Linked DNA regions of Homo sapiens: region 2 is linked to region 1. Evidence: promoter capture Hi-C in human tissues and cell types (Jung and others, 2019). All regions are on one chromosome and are shown on one strand. Each heading gives the region's core, a stretch centred on a gene start or on the middle of the fragment in contact. The rest is flanking DNA. Distances are from core to core; before and after follow the strand shown.

Evidence for each region. Contacts are between HindIII fragments. The study calls those that stand out against the background at their distance.
Region 2: a contact is called between a fragment that was not itself captured here and the fragment with the promoter of SPPL3 in region 1, in 1 of the 25 tissues and cell types used here (dorsolateral prefrontal cortex).

Annotation. Positions count from the first base shown.
Region 1 is chr12:120,901,944-120,907,312 of GRCh38, forward strand. SPPL3 (signal peptide peptidase like 3) reads right to left here and starts at 2,415. Exons shown (of 11, transcript NM_139015.5): 1 at 1,902-2,415. The coding sequence starts at 1,924. XLOC_009911 (a long non-coding RNA gene) reads left to right here and starts at 2,752. Exons shown (of 2, transcript NR_131215.1): 1 at 2,752-2,829. RefSeq lists silencers at 1,765-1,814, 1,955-2,174, 2,255-2,614. The HindIII fragment of the contact is 15,749 bases long and covers 1-4,752 here.
Region 2 is chr12:120,538,329-120,543,697 of GRCh38, forward strand. The region is part of intron 1 of RNF10 (ring finger protein 10); the gene reads left to right. Among named protein-coding and RNA genes, the nearest start is that of RNF10, 6.7 kb to the left of the region's middle. The HindIII fragment of the contact is 6,302 bases long and covers 1-5,274 here.

The DNA.
Region 1 (5,369 bases), core at 1,165-3,664:
GGCCTCTGTACAGCACAGTAAAAACAGCAAAGCAGCCATTAGGACTCTCAGGGCCACAGCCATTAGGGCCAGAGTATGAGAAGCTCAAGATGAGTAACCACAAGGCATGACAGAAACACCTTTACCTTCATTTCTTACTCTGTCCAGAAGGAAGCTGAAATTGTAATCTTGTGTTCCCTACGACCTGCTACTGAAAGGCAGCTGTCACGCAAAACTATGAAATTAGCTTAAACCTCTTTTTAGAGCACGTGTTCACCAAGATTTTAATTCTTCCTTTAGGGTTACTTTGTCTCTCAGTTACCTTCTTCTTGAGATTGCACATACATCAATGAAGTTCTCTTAAGAATTATCATCTTCAATCCCCAACTCCCTTTCTCTTATGTGAAGACTCAATGAGTTACTGACTTATAACCTCTAACACTATAAATAATCCACTCAAAGTCTTCTACCTAAAACCATTCCTTATTTTCTGATATTACCCATTTCTTAGATGTTTCTCTAGGATAATTATAATTAATGTAGTAAGATCTGTGGCACTTCACAGTTTGCCAAGTGCTTTCTAAATGTACTCACTTAATCCTTACAGGCTGTGGAAAAGGTAATTCCCTCTATTTTATAGGTAAGGAAAAAGGACCGAAGAACTCACTACCATGTCGTATCAACAAAGCAAGTTGGTGGCAAACCGGACCTCCGAAATAGGTCTTCCAACTCCACACGGCATGCTCGTCCCATTCTATTATGCTCTTTTCTAAGAAGGGAATGTCTACAGTTCTGTCCCAAACCACATTTGCTTCAAGAGTAAACCATCTTCAAACCATTTCTCTAAATTGCAATCAGGTCCCCCACTCCTACGATCATGCCATTTCTTGCTTCCTCACTCTCCAGCTATGACTTCCTTCTCACTACCCGATTTCCACTCTTCATGGATACTGCCATCATTCCTTCAACCCGTCCTGCAAATATCCCACCTCTACATGCTAAAGGGAGACCCCTCATGTTCCTTCCCCCAAACCCTGGCACTCCCTTCTCCGGATATGTAGGTTGTCACCCCATAAACTACACAGTAGCTTCTCGCTTCTCGGCCCTTAACGAGCTACTTACTAACTTTAAAAGCCCCACAGAAATGAACTTAACTTGCAGGTCCTCCACCTCCACACTTGGCCCTGGGCGCCATTCCTCTGAAAATAATAGTACCAACCCTTACAAAGACTCTGCCCATGCCCCACTGTCACCAACGAATTCCTTTTCCAGAAGGAAAAGGAAACAGGTTCTTCAGGCTCCTCTTCCAACCTCTTCACCAGTGACTCCCCTCCAAGGTTCGTGGACTCTACCCCCGCAGTTTTCCTCCCCTCACTCCCGGGCCTCTGCCCACCTCACCAACTCTCCCTGCGCTCCCTGTCCCAGAGCCAAGCGGCGGCCGCTCCACTCTCCCAACTTAGAAGTTCTGCCTCTATCACCTGTTCTCACTAGAGCTTCCTCTCAGCCCAGCGGCCCACCTTTGCCCTGGCCTGCCTCTCTCCACCCCTTCGAGTCCTCCTGCCCAGGAAACACCCCCACGAGTCAGTTCCGGGGTGCCTGTCGGATTCAACTTCCCATCCGTGGGATTCCCACCCCCGGGGTCATGCTCCCCTTCTCCATCACCTGCTCCGCCCATAGCCAGATGACATCCGCCGCTGCCTCCTCCTCCATTCCCCTTCTCGGACGCCAGGTCCCCGGCCACTCACCGCCCTCCGTGCGCGCCAGCCGCCCCCTCCGGTGGGGAAGAGGGGGGCGTGCACCCCAACCCGCGCCCCCCCCCCACGACACGCACCTGTTCTTCCTCCTCTTCCCCTCGGCGGGCCGCGCCGGCGCCCCGACCCCCACCCTTGCCGCCTCCCGGCCTCCCGGAGCCCCGCACTCACCACGAGTAGGTCTGCTCCGCCATGGCGCTGCCTCTCGTGGGCTCCGCTGCAGGCTGTGGCCGGGCCCGGCGGCGGCGGGCTCGCTCGGGCCGTAGCTGAAGGCGCGGCCGGGGTCCGGTGCTTGCTTGCTTGCTCGCTCGCTGGCTCGCTGGCTGCACGGCGGGCCGGGAAGGCGGCTGGCGGGGAGAGGCCGGGCTCCGAAGCGGCCCCGCTCCCTGGGCCCCGGGGCGGGGCGGGCTCCGCTCTCGGCCTCCCTCACCCGCGGCGGCGGCGGCGGCTCCGCTGCAGCTCCAAACCCAACATGGCGGCGGCGGCGGCGCGGAGAACAAGGGGGCCCTGGGGCGGGCGAACGGCAAGACGGGCCCGCGCTCACTGCGCGCGGGGCCGCGGGAGCGCCGCGCTCGGGCGGCGGCGGCGGCGGCCGGGGGACATGGCCGGCGGGCGGAGGCGGCGGCGACTGAGGGGGGCGCTAGGCGATGAGGCGAGGCCACTCGATCACACCCGCCGAGGGGAGGAGGGGCGGGGGCGGGGGCGAGCCTTGGCCCCGCGCGGGTCACGTGCCCAAAACACGCTCACGTGATGCGCGCCCCGCCCCTCGAGCCGGGCCCATGCGCAGAGACGTCGGCTCCTGGGTTCTAGGCGGCTGCTGCTCGCACAGCCAGAGCAGTTGGGCCGCCTCCCGCTGCCTGGTGCCGCCCCCCTCCCCACGCGGAGATGTCGCCTCGGGTACCCTCTTCCGCCCCTCTCCGAGGGGCTGCTGCACCAGCCAATCGGGAACCCCGATGCGCGTCTGTTGGCTGCCACTCAGCTGTCAACCGTCAGTCAACAGTCTGCTGGCCACGGGCCCCCCAACTGTCAGTCAACCTGTCAGTCAACAGGCAGAGGGCTGCATTCCTTCGTTCGTATGTTCCTTGGTTCATTCATTCAGGTAGCAAATATTCCAGGCAGCCAACCTTTATTGCGCCCAGGCCCGGCACCAAGTCGAATACCCCACGCTTGCCTTCACAGAATCAATCAACAGATATTTGTTGGGTGCCAACCATGTGTCAACTCACTCTGCCTTCCTAGAGCTTACATTCTAAAGGAAGAGACATAGTCCAAGCCCACAAATAAGATAATTTCAGATGCTGCTAAGTTTTACAAAAACACATTTTGTAACACAAGGTGAGGGGACAGAGAGTGAGCAGAGGTGTGGGTTACTTTAGATAGGGTGGTCAAGGAAGGCCTCGCTTAGGAGGTGACATTTGAGCTGATATTGAATGATGACAGAGAGCTGGCCTTGCAAAGATCCACAGGAAAAGAGTTCCTGGCAGAGGGAACAGCAAGGGCAGAAGGCTCAGGAAACCGTCCATTTGGAGGTCTGGAAACCGGCACAGAAATAAACACGGTAGAGCTAGACCAGAGACCAACAAAGTGAATCTGGAGCTTAGATGGAGAGAGAAGAGAGAGATTAATTGAGGCCCCAGGTACTGCGGAATGCTTCCCCAGGAGTGGATGAGGCCGTCTGAAAGGGTGAGAGGCTTATCAAAGAAAAGTCATTCTTTTGGCCGGGCGCGGTGGCTCACGCCTGTAGTCCCAGCACTTTGGGAGGCCGAGGTGGGTGGATCATGAGGTCAGGAGATCGGGACCATCCTGGTTAACACGGTGAAACCCTGTCTCTACTAAAAATACAAAAAATTAGCCGGGCGTGGTGGTGGACGCCTGTAATCCCAGCTACTCAGGAGGTTGAGGCAGGAGAATGGCGTGAACCCCGGAGGCAGAGCTTGCAGTGAGCCGAGATTGCGCCACTGCACTCCAGCCTGGGCAACAGCGAGACTCTGTCTCAAAAAAAAAAAAAGAAAAAGAAAAAGAAAAAGAAAAAAAAAAAAGAAAAGGCATTCTAGAAAGAAAGAATGGCATGAAGTAAGGCCCAATTCCTGGTGAGCTTGAATCCGAGAGTGGGATGGGTGATTTGTGCTGGAGTGTTGAGAAAATATACTGAGAAGGTGCACTGAGGCCAGACTTTGAGGGCCCAGCTAAGCCTCCTTGCCAGTTACTGTGTTCATGAATAAAAATGATTAACCAGTGCAGCTTCAGAATTTAGAAACATGCCTGGGCAACAGATACACTAACCCTCCTGGACACCCCTCCACCCCCACCCTTCACCCCCCTGTTTCTCTGCAGAAGGCAAAACTCACACACCTGAAACCAACGTACTCAAGCTTCTCTGCAGCTTGCCCAACTTTAGGCCAGAATTTAGCTCTGCTCCAGTTTCCCAGGGCCTGCCCAGGCTTACAGGGAACACCACACCCTGAATCTATCTCCAAATGGATCAGTTGGCCATTGCCCATACATCTGCCGCTTGCCTGTTCCCCAAGGGAAACCCTTTAAAGAGAAAGCCAAGTACACTTTCCCTTCAGAAGCAAAGCTCTCCTTCCTTATTCCCCCACTGCCAGGTGCCAGGACCAGTTAGGTTCCAAGTGTTTCCTCCAAAGCTCTATCAGAGAGCCCTGGGAAAAGGCTCACTGATGAGATTGAGGTCCAGGCCGGGCGCGATGGCTCACGCCTGTAATCCCAGCACTTTGGGAGGCCAAGGCAGGTGGATCATGAGGTCAAGAGGTCGTGACTATCCTGGCCAACATGGTGAAACCCCATCTCTACTAAAAATACAAACATTCGCTGGACGTGGTGACCCATGCCTATAGTCCCAGCTACTTGGGAGGCCTGAGGCAGTAGAATCGCTTGAACCGGGGAGTGGAGGTTGCAGTGGACCTAGATCACGCCACTGCACTCCAGCCTGGCGACAGAGTGAGACTCCGTCTCAAAAAAAAAAAAAAAAAAAAAAGATCGAGGTCCAGGGGAGGGTTTGAGGCAGGGCAACAAGAAAATATCAAATCACCAGGGACCCTTAGTCTCACTATTCACAAGAAGACACTGGCCTGCAAAGATCTGTCCAGCCATAAACCCACCAGATGCAGGGATATTAAGGGGAGATGAGAAGGCAAAGGGGCTAAATTCTTTTTTAAAAAATTTTTTTAATTTAATTACTTTTTTTGTTTGTTTTTGAGACAGAGTCTTGCTCTGTCACTCAGGCTGGAGTGCAGTGGCGTGATCTCAGCTCACTGCAACCTCTGCCTCCCAGGTTCAAGCAATTCTGCCTCAGCCTCCCAAGTAGCGGGGATTACAGGCGTGCGCTACCACATCCAGCTAATTTTTTATTTTTAGTAGAGATGGGGTTTCACCATGTTGGCTAAACTCCTCAAACCCCTGGCTTCAAATGATCTGCCCACCTCGGCCTCCCAAAGTGCTGGGATTACAGGCATGAGCCACCGCGTCCGGCCAGGGGCTAAATTCTTGACATTCATTTAGCTCTCACAACCTTGCCAAGTGCTTTTACATAAAGCCAACTGTGTCCTTGAACGTGACGCAGTCATTCTGAGTTTCAAAGGGGCACAGAGTGAGGCTTTAGGTCCCATGGGAAAGGCCAGA
Region 2 (5,369 bases), core at 874-3,373, 360 kb before region 1:
AGCTACATGATTAATTTCTTTGAGATTTTGTTCCAGTGGCTGGCTTAAATTTGCCCTTCATTTGTACACAGGAAATATGTAAATTTGGCTACCAGGATTTTCTTGATCTTTCCGGCTAGAGTCGCATACCACAGTTTCTTTGCCTGGGCTAATTGCCTGAACATTTATATAACATTCCTTTTCTTGATTATATTCCTACAGCTTCATTCCAGTAGTGTTAATAGGTATTTCTGAGAACATGCAGCAGTAAATATCCTGTGAATATAGCTCAGAGGAGAGAAGGTGGGTTAGAAAGTGGGGAAAGTCATTTAGAGGGAGCAAAGAAAGAGAGGCAAGAGAGAAGGTAGGCCGTTTATGGGCAGGCAGTGGACTCTGGCCAGGAACCAGGCTCTTGTCCCATCCCCCTGGGCCGATAGAACTGCCAGGGAGGTTAAGGGAAGGTCAGGTATTATGAGGCAGTTATTTTGAGGTTGGTGGTATGAAGCACTGCCCTGGCATTCTTCCTGTTATTCTGGTACCAGAAACCAGGTTACTAGTGGTAATCTGCCTTGAAGAATGCCTCTGAGCTGTAAATGGACCTGGAGATTTTAATGGCTTTGAAAATTGAGGTGATTTGAAGCCTTCAGTAAAACCACTTAGAGAAATTAAAAGAATTTCAGGGCCCGTTGGCTGGATTCCTTGGTTTATATGGCTTCATTGGAAGTCTAGTGGGTGCTCTTGACAGGAACGCTTTGGATTTATTAATGATAGGCTTTCAAATCATAGTAAAACTGTGTGTCAGCCACTATGGTAGGCATTTTACAGAAGTTTTCTTTCTTAATCCTCATGATTCTATGAGGAAGTATGGTAGAATATTAGTCCTGTTTCACAGAAAAGAAAATAGAGGCTTAGCAGTGTTAAGAGTGATTTGTCCAAGTAAATTTTTATGAAGTCCTAGGCGGTATTTTTCAATAAGCTTTGTATAATCACACTTAGCAAGCAGATAACTTACTGGCATGTGCATCATTCCTGATACCACCTCTCTCTTCCTTTCATTCAGAATTACTAATTTCAGCTGGATTCAATTTGTTGTCAGTTGATTCTGTAGTAAGGCCATATGTTGCCCCTCTGGAGGTGCTTGTCAACTACTCTGGATGATGGGTAAGCAACTTGCTTGTGATTACAGCATGAATCAGCAGCAGAAACTTGCTGACTGGTATTCTGACCTCTAGGCCGAGCCACCTGTTAGAACTAGAGCTAGAAATGAAGATGCCAAGTAATTTAACTGTGAAAAACTTGTGGCCCTTAATTTGGTAATGGGGGGAGGCTGAGATATACCTACTGCTACTTGGTGGAGACCTTTCCATTAGGGAAATGTGGAACAACTGAGAAGCTGGGTTAAGTTTTTAAGTCATTTATTTGTCGACTCTGGAGCCTGAGTTTAGTGGTCTTGTCCATTTTGGAATGTGTCTTGACAGTAGTTCTTGGCAGTTGTTCTCAGTGGTGGCTGTGCATCAGAATCTCCTCAGGAACTTTTTTTTTTCCCTCAAGACAGTCTTGCTCTGTCACCCAGGCTGGAGTTCAGTGGCGCGATCTCAGCTCACTTTAACCTCTGCCTTCCCGGTTTAAGCAATTCTTCTGCCTCAGCCTCCTGAGTAGCTGGATTGCAGGTGTCCACCACCACACCGGCCTAATTTTTGTATTTTTAGTAGAGATGGGTTTCGCCATGTTGGCCAGGCTGGTCTCAAACTCCTGACCTCATGAGGAACTTAAAAAAAAAAAAAATAGGGGTGTGTGGGGCCCCTTCCTAGGAATTTATTATCTTTTTTTTTTTTGTAGAGATGGGGGTCTCACCATGTTGCCCAGGCTGGTCTCAAATTCCTGGCTTCAAATGATCCTCCCACCTTAGCCTCCCAAAGTGCTGGGGTTACAGGCATAAGCCACTGTGCCTGGCCTTTTTCTGATTCTTTAAGCCTAGATTGAACCCGTGGGTCCTGGGCATTCATAATTTAAAAAGTCTGTGCAAGTGATTCTGGTGTGCAGCCAGGATTGAGAACCACCACTCTGAGATTTAAAACTTCACCCATAGTTCCTTCTCCCAGGAACTTGATATTTTTTGTTTTCCAAAATCTAAAGTGGATCATCTTATCACTCCTGTTCTACCCTCGAGTTTTTCCCATGTATATCCTGGCAAGTTGTCCACAAAACATTTCAAAAATAATACTCTGAATTTTATCTCTGGGTCCCAGGCCTGATGGTACCTTCAACCTTTAGCTGCCTTTTGCCTGGGTCTAGAGATAAGAGCCAGTCTCTCACTTGACATATCTGTCTTCATACCCTTAGGTAACTGGAAGACGAGAAACGAGTTGATTTTGGCAACTAAAATCACTAATCATGATGTGGTCAGTTGTTATGTGTTTTGGAAATGAGCAGTTTACTGTCTTATCAGTGAGCATTTCTGTAAGCATTATGAAACTGTTTCCTTGCCAGTGTGGTAATAAGTGAAGAAATGAAGACAGCCTTCTTGCTGAGTGCCAGTTTACTTTCTTTTTTTTTTTTTTTTTGAGACAGAGTTTTGCTCTTGTTGCCCAGGCTGGAGTGTAGTGGTGCAGTCTCGGCCTTGCCGCAACCTCCACCTCCCGGGTTCAAGCTATTCTCCTGCCTCAGCCCCCGGAGTAGCTGGGATTACAGGCATGCGCCACCATGCCCAGCTAATTTTTTGTATTTTTAGTAGAGACGGGGTTTCTCCATGTTGGTCAGGCTGGTCTCGAACTCCCGACCTCAGGTGATCCGCCCGCCTCGGCCTCCCAAAGCATTGGGATTATAGGCATGAGCCACCGTGTCTGGCCATTTTACTTTCTTAATAAGCCCTTGCCATGTAGAATCTGGCTTTACCTAAATCTATGCAAACCGTGAGGTGCATCTTGAAAGCAGCAGTTAGGGTCAAACAGGTAGGGTCCAGGATCATCTGAAACAGTCTTGGATAATGAGGTTGGAGGATATGTGTTTTCTTTATATACCTATCCTCGTAGAATCTCCTTTGCTTGAGGTGATGTGAAATGGAGTTAAGGAAAGCAAAGCAAGAGAATGTGGCTGAGTTAGCTGGGGTTCTGCATCCCCTGAGTTTTCCTTTTTTTTTTTTTTTGAGACGGAGTCTCACTCTGTCGCCCAGACTGGAATGCAGTGGCACGATCTCCGCTCACTGCTAGCCCCGCCTCCCGGGTTCACGCCATTCTCCTGCCTCAGCCTCCCGAGCAGCTGGGACTACAGGCGCCCGCCACCAAGCCTGGCTAATTTTTTGTATTTTTAGTAGAGATGGGGTTTCACCATGTTAGCCAGGATGGTCTCTATCTCCTGACTTCGTGATCCACCTGCCTTGGCCTCCCAAAGTGCTGGGATTACAAGCATGAGCCATCGTGCCTGGCTTTTTTTTTTTTAGAGACAAGCTCTCGCTCTGTCACTTAGGCTGGCATGCAGTGGTGCAAACATAACTGACTGAAACCTTGAACTCCTTGGCTTAAGAGATCCTTGAACTCTTGAACCACTGTGCCTGGTTTATCTTTTTCTTTTTTTTTTTGAGATGGAGTCTCACTGTGTCTCCCAGGCTGGAGTGCAGTGGTGCAATCTTGGCTCACTGCAAGCCCCGCCTCCCAGGTTCACACCGTTCTCCTGCCTCAGCCTCCTGAGTAGCTGGGACTACAGGCTCCCGCCACCACGCCTGGTTAATTTTTTGTATTTTTAGTAGAGACAGGGTTTCACCATGTTAGCCAGGATGGTCTTGATCTCCTGACCTCGTGATCCACCCGCCTCAGCATCCCAAAGTGCTGGGATTACAGGCGTGAGCCACCGTGCCTGGCCTTTTTCTTTTTTTGAGACAGAGGCTCACTCTGTAGCCCAGGGTGGAGAGCAGTGGTGCCATCATAGCACACCGCAGCCTCAACCTTGGCTTAAGCAATCCTTCCAACTCAGCCTCTCAGCTAGGACTGCAGGTGTGTGCCACCACATTGGGCTAATTTTTAAATTTTTTGTAGAGATGGGGTCTTGCTATGTTGCCCAGGCTGGTCGCAAACTCGTGGACTCAAGTGATCCTCTTGCTTTGGCTTCCCAAAGTGTTGAGACAACCGGCATGAGCCACCAAGTCCAGCGCTGAAACTTTGCTTTCTAATTGTTACTACTAGTGCCATGTTTGACACTAACTGTTGCTAACTGAAGTAATAGGTAAAAGTTTAGTTTTTAAGTTCTAACTTTATTTATTTGTTTTTTGAGACAGAGTCTCACTCTGCTGCCCAGGCTGGAGTGCAGTGGCGTGATTTCAGCTCACTGCAACCTCTGCCTCCCGGGTTCAAATGATTCTCATGCCTTAGCCTCCCAAGTAGCTGGGATTACAGGCGTGTGGCACCACACCTGGCTAATGTTTGTATTTCTAGTAAAGATGGGGCTTCACCATGTTGGCCAGGCTGGTCTCGAACTTCTGGCCTCATGTGATCTGCCTGCCTTGGCCTCCCAAAGTGCTGGGATTACAGGGAGCCACCATGCCTGGCCTTAAATTGTAACTAAGGTAAGGGTCACTGTCCGTAAGCAGGATTTAAGGGTAACTGGTAGGAGTGAACCTAGCCTGTTTCTGTGACTGTTCTGTTTACATTGCTGCCATTTCACATGGTTTAGATTGACTCCCAGGTTTTAGGTGGTCAGGTTTGGAGAGAATGACATCTCATTTATACAGTGAGGTTGACAGACTATGGGCGTGAAGTGGTTGCTTTCAAAATTTGGTCTCTGATTTATTAACTTACATTTTCTTCTTTCTGAGGCATTGTTTAACCTTGAATTTATTTAGCCTGCTATAAAAAGCTGGTGATTGTACTTACCAAGAAATAATTTTTTCTAAGTTTAAAAAAAATTACTCAGATAATATTACAGGTCTGCAGACAGGTACTTTAGTATAGTTATATCAGAATCTTAGAGGGTGAGGCCTGAGCATAGGAATTCCGTAAAAGCTCATCTGTGTGATTCCTATGAACTGGCAAGATTGAGAATCATTGTAATAAGATAAAAGTGGGGCCAGACCCCATGGCTCATGCTTATAATCCCAGCACTTTGGGAGGCTGAGGTGGGAAGATCACCTGAGCCTGGAGGATCGCCTGAGCCCAGGAGTTTGAGACCAGCCTGGGCAACATAGTGAGACCCCCGTCTGCACAAAAAAATTTAAAAATTAGGTCGGGCCTGATGGCTCACGCCTGTAATCCCAGCACTTTGGGAGGCTGAGGCTGGTGGATCGCTTGAGCTCAGGAGTTTGAGACCCATCTGGGCAACATGGCAAAACCCCGTCTATATCAAAAATATAAATTAAGCCAAGAATGGTGTATATGCCTGGAGTCCCAGCTACTTGGGGG